Linked DNA regions of Homo sapiens: region 2 is linked to region 1. The links are contacts of gene promoters, found by promoter capture Hi-C in human tissues and cell types (Jung and others, 2019). All regions are on one chromosome and are shown on one strand. Each heading gives the region's core, a stretch centred on a gene start or on the middle of the fragment in contact. The rest is flanking DNA. Distances are from core to core; before and after follow the strand shown. Region 1 holds the start of APOBEC3F (apolipoprotein B mRNA editing enzyme catalytic subunit 3F). Region 2 overlaps CBX7 (chromobox 7).

Evidence for each region. The method cuts DNA at HindIII sites, captures the fragments that hold promoters and counts their contacts. A contact is called where the count stands out against the background at its distance.
Region 2: a contact is called between a fragment that was not itself captured here and the fragment with the promoter of APOBEC3F in region 1, in 2 of the 25 tissues and cell types used here (H1 embryonic stem cells and spleen).

Annotation. Positions count from the first base shown.
Region 1 is chr22:39,039,177-39,042,366 of GRCh38, forward strand. APOBEC3F (apolipoprotein B mRNA editing enzyme catalytic subunit 3F) reads left to right here and starts at 1,688. Exons shown (of 7, transcript NM_145298.6): 1 at 1,688-1,801. The coding sequence starts at 1,785. RefSeq lists enhancers at 1,498-1,557, 2,610-3,190. The HindIII fragment of the contact is 19,854 bases long and covers 1-3,190 here.
Region 2 is chr22:39,135,044-39,138,233 of GRCh38, forward strand. All of the region lies in intron 4 of CBX7 (chromobox 7), which reads right to left. Among named protein-coding and RNA genes, the nearest start is that of CBX7, 16 kb to the right of the region's middle. RefSeq lists an enhancer at 59-1,036. The HindIII fragment of the contact is 3,206 bases long and covers 93-3,190 here.

The DNA of each region.
Region 1 (3,190 bases), core at 438-2,937:
AGTCCTAATGGTGGAATGTCTTAAGGTTGGTTAATCAGTTAAGGGAGAAACTGGCTGTTTCACTTCTTTTGTGTTTTTTTGGCTGCTCCAGACTTCTTGGCTGCTGCAGGCCATCTGGATGTATATGTGCAGTTCACAGGGGTCACAATGGCTTAGCTCCGGCTCAGAGGCCTGACACTGACCTCAGATGATCCACCTGCCTCGGCCTCCCAAAATGCTGGGATTACAGGCGTGAGCCACTGTGCCTGCCTGGGATCATATGTTACACGCATGTTTGTTCAATAAGCATGGAGTGCAGCCACCCACATGAATATTCATAGCTCCTCCTATAGCCTGTTGAATATGTATGTTTAGCCAACCCCTTCAGCATAAAGCTCCTGCCCCAACCCCTCCTGCTTCTAAATGTCTGTCTCTGGTGTTTCCCAGAGGCTGCTCTTCCCAGGCTGCGGGATGGCTACCTTGCTGCCTGTCACCCTTAACAAGAAATAAAATCTCCTTTCCAAATTTATACATTGTGGCCAGGCGCGGTGGCTCACACCTGTAATCCCGGCACTTTGGTACGCCAAGGCGGGCGGATCTCCTCAGATCGGGAGTTCGAGATCAGCTGACCAACATGGAGAAACCCTGTCTCTACTAAAAATACAAAAATTAGCCAGGCATAGTGGTGGGCGGCTGTAAGCCTGACCAACATGGAGAAACACTGTCTCTACTAAGAATACAAAAATTAGCCTAGGCGTAGGGGTGGGTGCCTGTAATCGCAGTTACATGGGAGGCTGAGGCAGGAGAATCTTTTGAACCTGGGAGGCAAAGGTTGCGGTGAGCTGAGATTACGCCACTGTACTCCAGCCTGGGTAACAGAGCAAGTCTCCGTCTCAAAACAAACAAACAAACAAAAAAACACAAAAAAACAAAAGCAAACAAAAAAACCAAATGCATCCCTTGTGTAATTTTTAGGTCACCGCGCCATGGGAACACGCTACCAGGGGAAGGGAGCTGTGAGACGCGCAGGGAGGCTCCAGACAGGCTGGCCTGGGACACCAGCCACTGCTCTTCCATGACATGGGGACAAGAGGAGGCGAGAGCTCAGCCCACCAGGGAGGAACTCCGGGCAGGAGATGGGGAAGAAGGAGAAGCAGGAAGGAAAGAGCTCAGTGTGGGGGCGCGCATGGCATCCCGGTGGGACATCTGAGGCCCACACCCACCTGCTGTCCCTCCCTCCCACGGTGGCCTCCGAGGGTGAAGGCCTGGGGAGAGGCAGACACCTGGCCCTTTACTCTCCCTCCCTGTCCCCATGGCCGCTGGGTGGGGGCCGTCTCTGGGATGATCCCCGAGGGCAGGATCCGGGAGTCCCTGCGGAGGCATCAGCCTGTCTGTCTTGATGGTGGAGAGGAGGCTCCAGCTGGGCGGGACCACCAGGGGAGGGGCTTGTGCTCTGCTGGCTCAGCCTGGTGTGGACCCACCTCGCGGGCGCTGGCTGCAATGACTTTCTCTTTCCCTTTGCAATTGCCTTGGGTCCTGCCGCACAGAGCGGCCTGTCTTTATCAGAGGTCCCTCTGCCAGGGGGAGGGCCCCAGAGAAAACCAGAAAGAGGGTGAGAGACTGAGGAAGATAAAGCGTCCCAGGGCCTCCTACACCAGCGCCTGAGCAGGAAGGGGGAGGGGCCATGACTACGAGGCCCTGGGAGGTCACTTTAGGGAGGGCTGTCCTGAAACCTGGAGCCTGGAGCAGAAAGTGAAACCCTGGTGCTCCAGACAAAGATCTTAGTCGGGACTAGCCGGCCAAGGATGAAGCCTCACTTCAGGTACCGCTGCCCGCTCTACCCGCTGGGCCCCTCTGCTGCCCCTTCCTGCCTGGTGGCTCTGCTGGGCGTCAGCCCTGGCCTCCCCCTGCCCCAGCCCCAGCCCTGGGCTCCCTCCCCTCTGGCTCCCCTGCCCCCGCCACTCCCAGCCAGGCTCTTTTTCCTGCTCTGTGGTTGCCCCACTGCTGCTTCTGAATAGGCCGCTTCCCCACCTGCCCCAGCCCAGGTGCCCTGCTGAGACTCTCCCCCGCCACCGAAAGTCATGGCAGGGCTGGTGCTCCCGGCCCTGGGAGGGTGCTCCCTCTGTGTTCTTTCCGCCATTCCTGAACTCTGGAACTGGGAGAATTGAACCAAAGGATGATTAGAGCAATGTGGAATTTTGTTCACAGTGCTTTGATGGATTTTCTGTAACATTTACTTTGCTTAAATAGCAAGTCTTAGGAGAGGGTGTGGGGAGGGAATGGTCTCTGAAGCACAAGATAAATCGTATCTTCCAAGGATGTCTCCACTGTGGGCAGAGGAGGATGCAGATGACCCCAAACACACGCTCCTCCTCCACTATCAGCATTCACTGTTTATAAATGACACGAGTAACATGGAATATAGTGGCCGGGTGCGGTGGCTCACACCTGTCATCCCAGCACTTTGGTAGGCTGAGGTGGGTGGATTGCCTGAGGTCGGGAGTTCGAGACCATCCTGATCAACATGGATAAACCCTGTCTCTACTAAAAATACAAAATTAGCCGGGTGTGGTGGCGGGCGCCTATAATCCAGCTACTCCACAGGCTGAGACAGGAGAATCGCTTGAACCCAGGAGGCGGAGGTTGCAGTGAGCCGAGATCGCCCCATCGCACTCCAGCCTGGGCAACAAGAGCCAAATTTCGTCTCAAAAGAAAAAAAAACAAAAACAAAAAACATGGAATATATGGGAAAAAAACTCAATGATCAGGAGAAATGCTATTATTTTAAAATTTAGTAAGAAGAGAGTCTGGTCCCCAATGGCTCCCTCCTGCAAGGCTGGTGACACAGAGACTGGACAGGGCTGGTCTGGTAAGAGGCCCCAGCCCCATCCGTCCCCAGCTCTGTGGCCTGGGCAGGTTACCCCATCTCTCTGCGCCTCTGGCACCTCCTCTGTAAGATGGGAATGGCCCGTGCGGGCCTAGGGCAGCCTCACATGAGCTCACATCCGCGCAGCACTTAGAAGAGTGGCCTGGGCCTCAGAATTCGGTTCTACCATGATTTAACAATAGTAATATACAGAGGTGAAATGTCAGAAGGAACTGGCTGAAAGGTTAAAATCTATTATTTTGGGGTGAATAGTTTTATTCTCTCTCTCTTTTTTTTTTTTTTTTTTGAGATGGAGTTTCGCTCTTGTAGCCCAGGCTGGAGTGC
Region 2 (3,190 bases), core at 446-2,945, 96 kb after region 1:
AAAACTGGCCAAGAGAAACAAATCTGGATGCATTAAGGAGTTAGCCTTCGTTTTAGGAAAGGCATCTTTGCTTGCCAGAGCACCTCCAAAACTGACACTGCCAGCTCACCCGGGAGATGGTGCAGGCAGAGGGCCAAGGTGTGCTCTTGGAGTTGCTTGGGGCAAAGCCAGGCCAGCAGCACACACAGCCCCGGATGCCCATGCTATCCAGCCAAAGGGACAGGGCTCCACCTGGCCTGCAGATGCACCCCGACCCCTCCAGGGGGCTCCTGGGCTCTGTGATTGCAGCCCGCTCTGCTGATTGCCCGCGACACATCTGGAGCTGGAGGGCAAGTCTGTCCACCCCTGGAGTTTGTAATGTCGGGATTTATCTTATTTACTTGGGGAGAATTTACATGAATCTACAAAAGATTCATGGTGCCAAGATGTTGGGAGACTCTGGATCACTGGGACAGTACCTTCTCCTGCCACCTGCTACCAGAGGTCAGGAGCTCCCAGGAAGATAGTGCAGCCATCAGATGGGACCTGTGAGGTCAAACACCTCCAAGCTGAGGGAAGGGATGACACACGCAGGTCCCACTCACAGTCGTGCCTGTTAACGGCATCACATGTCCCCAGGTGCCGGCTGCTGCAGTGATGGGAGGAGGGCTAAACTGGGAGGGGACTGGGAAAATACTGCAGTGCCTGGGAGGCACATCTGGTAGGCAGCTGACTCAAAACCCACTCCTCCCAGCGGGCTCACAGGCCATCAGAAGCCTAGTATGGGCCAGGCACAGTGGCTCACGCCTGTAATCCCAACACTTTAGGAGGCCGAGGCAGCTGGATCACCAGAGGTCAGGAGTTCAAGGCCAGCCTGGCCAACATGGCGAAACCCCATCTCTACTAAAAATACAAAAATTAGCCGGGTGTGGTGGCAGGTGCCTGTAATCCCAGCTACTTGGGAGGCTAAGGCAGGACAATCATTTGAACCCAGAAGGCAGAGCTTGCAGTGAGCAGAGATCGCACCACTGTATTCCAGCCTGGGCGACAGAGCGAGACTCTGTCTGGGAAAAAAAAAAAAAAAAAAAAAGAAGCCCAGTACATTCTACCATTCTGCAAGGCAGGGTCTTCTACGTCCTTGGCAACCTCATCACGAGAGAACTACAGCTACTAAAGGGACGCGGGTGCCAACAGTCAGGTCCTGGGTAAGCTACCGGCCTCCCTGGGCCTCAGTTTCTTTCTCAGCGAAACAATGAAGAGACTGTAGGAGCCAGCCTCCGAGGAGGGCCCCAACCACACCCACCTCCTGGAATTCACACCTATGCGCCGTCCATTCCCACACCCAGTGCTGTGTTGTGTGACTTCCCAGGCTAGGGCATAAAAGACACTGTGGCTTCTTCCCTGCTCTCTCTCTCAGGTCACCCACTCTGGGAAGCTGGTGGCTGCACTGTAAGGACACTCAAGCAACCCTCTGGAGAGGTCCACATGGTGAGGACCAGTCCCTGTCAACGTCCAGCCCTGACTCGATGGCACGTGAGCAGCCCCCTCGGAGGCAGATCCCGCAGCCCTGGTCGAGCCTGCAGATGACTGCAGCCCAGCCAACACCTTGACTGCAGCCCAGACTAGAACCACTGAAGAACCAGCTAGCACAATTCCAAATTCCTGACCCCCAGAAGCCATGTGAAATAATCAATGTTTATTGCTTTGAGTTGCCATGTTAGAGGGGAAGAGATAACGAACACACCTGCCCTGTAGGCTTAGTATGTGGATGGAGTATATTCATCTGTGAGGCACACTGGGCAGACAGCCTGGCACACAGACGTCCAGGAGATGTTACTTCCCTTCCTAGGCTCAATTCATGCCAAACCCAATGGAACATGCCCACTGCATGAAGGGAGGCCCACCCCCTCTGGCGAAAGCCTCCATGGGTTTTAATCAGGAGTGGCCAAGGACGCTTGACATGGACCACATACAAGTGGACCAAGAATCCTGACTTTCTGGCTTCCAATATCCTGCCTGGTGGGTCTTATTACATTAAGGAGAGCGGGTATTCTCTTCATACCCATTTTACAGGTGAAGAGGCTTACCTACAACCACACACAGGCAGAGCATTCCTTATCCGAAATGCTTGGAACCAGAAGTGTTTCAGACTTCGAATTTTTTTAGGATTTTGGAATATTTGCATTATATATACTAGCTGAGCATCCCCAATCCAAAAATCTGAAATTTAGACTGCTCCAATGAACACTTCCTTTGAACATCATTTTGGTGCTCAAAATGTTTTGGATTCTGGAGCATTTCAGATCTTGTTTTTCTTGTTGGGGTGGGGGGGCGGGGCGGCAGGGGACGGAGTTTCACTCTTATCACCCAGGCTGGAGTGCAATGGTATGATCTTGGCTCCCTGCAACCTCCACCTCCCGGGCTCAAGTGACTGTCCTGTCTCAGCCCCCTGAGTAGCTGGGATTACAGGTGCCCGCCACCATCCCCAGCTAATTTTTGTATTTTTAGTAGAGACAGGTTTTCACCATGTTGGCCAGGCTGGTTTTGAACTTCTGACCTCAGGTGATCCACCCGCCTCGGCCTCCCAAAGTGTTGGGATTACAGGCATGAGCCACCGCACATGGCAGCATTTTGGATTTTGGATCAGGGAGACTCAACCTGTGACTGCACTGCTCCAAGATCCACGTCCCTGTCACTGCAAAGCACTGAGGTCAGGAAAGGCCCCCAAGACCTACGACGTGGGTACTCCGGGATGCTGCAGAGACTTGGGTCCCCAACTGACTGAAGGCTGGAACAGGAGGCCCACTCAAAAATGACACACTTCTAGGGGTCTGACATTCCAAGGCTGTAGTTCTACAATTCTAAGATTCTGTTTCTGGCTGGGCGCGGTGGCTCACGCCTGTAATCCCAGCACTTTGGGAGGCCAAGCCGGGCGGATCATGAGGTCAGGAGATCGAGACCATCCTGGCCAACACGGTGAAACCCCGTCTCTGCTAAAAATACAAAAATTTAGCCAGGCGTGGTGGCGGGCGCCTGTAGTCCCAGCTACTGGGGAGGCTGAGGCAGGAGAATGGCGTGAACCCGGGAGGTGGAGCTTGCAGTGAGCCAAGATCGCGCGCCACTGCACTCCAGCCTGAGCGACAGAGCGAGACTCCGTCTCAAAAAAAAAAAAAAAAAAAAGATTCTGTTTCTTAGATTCTGAAACTCCAGC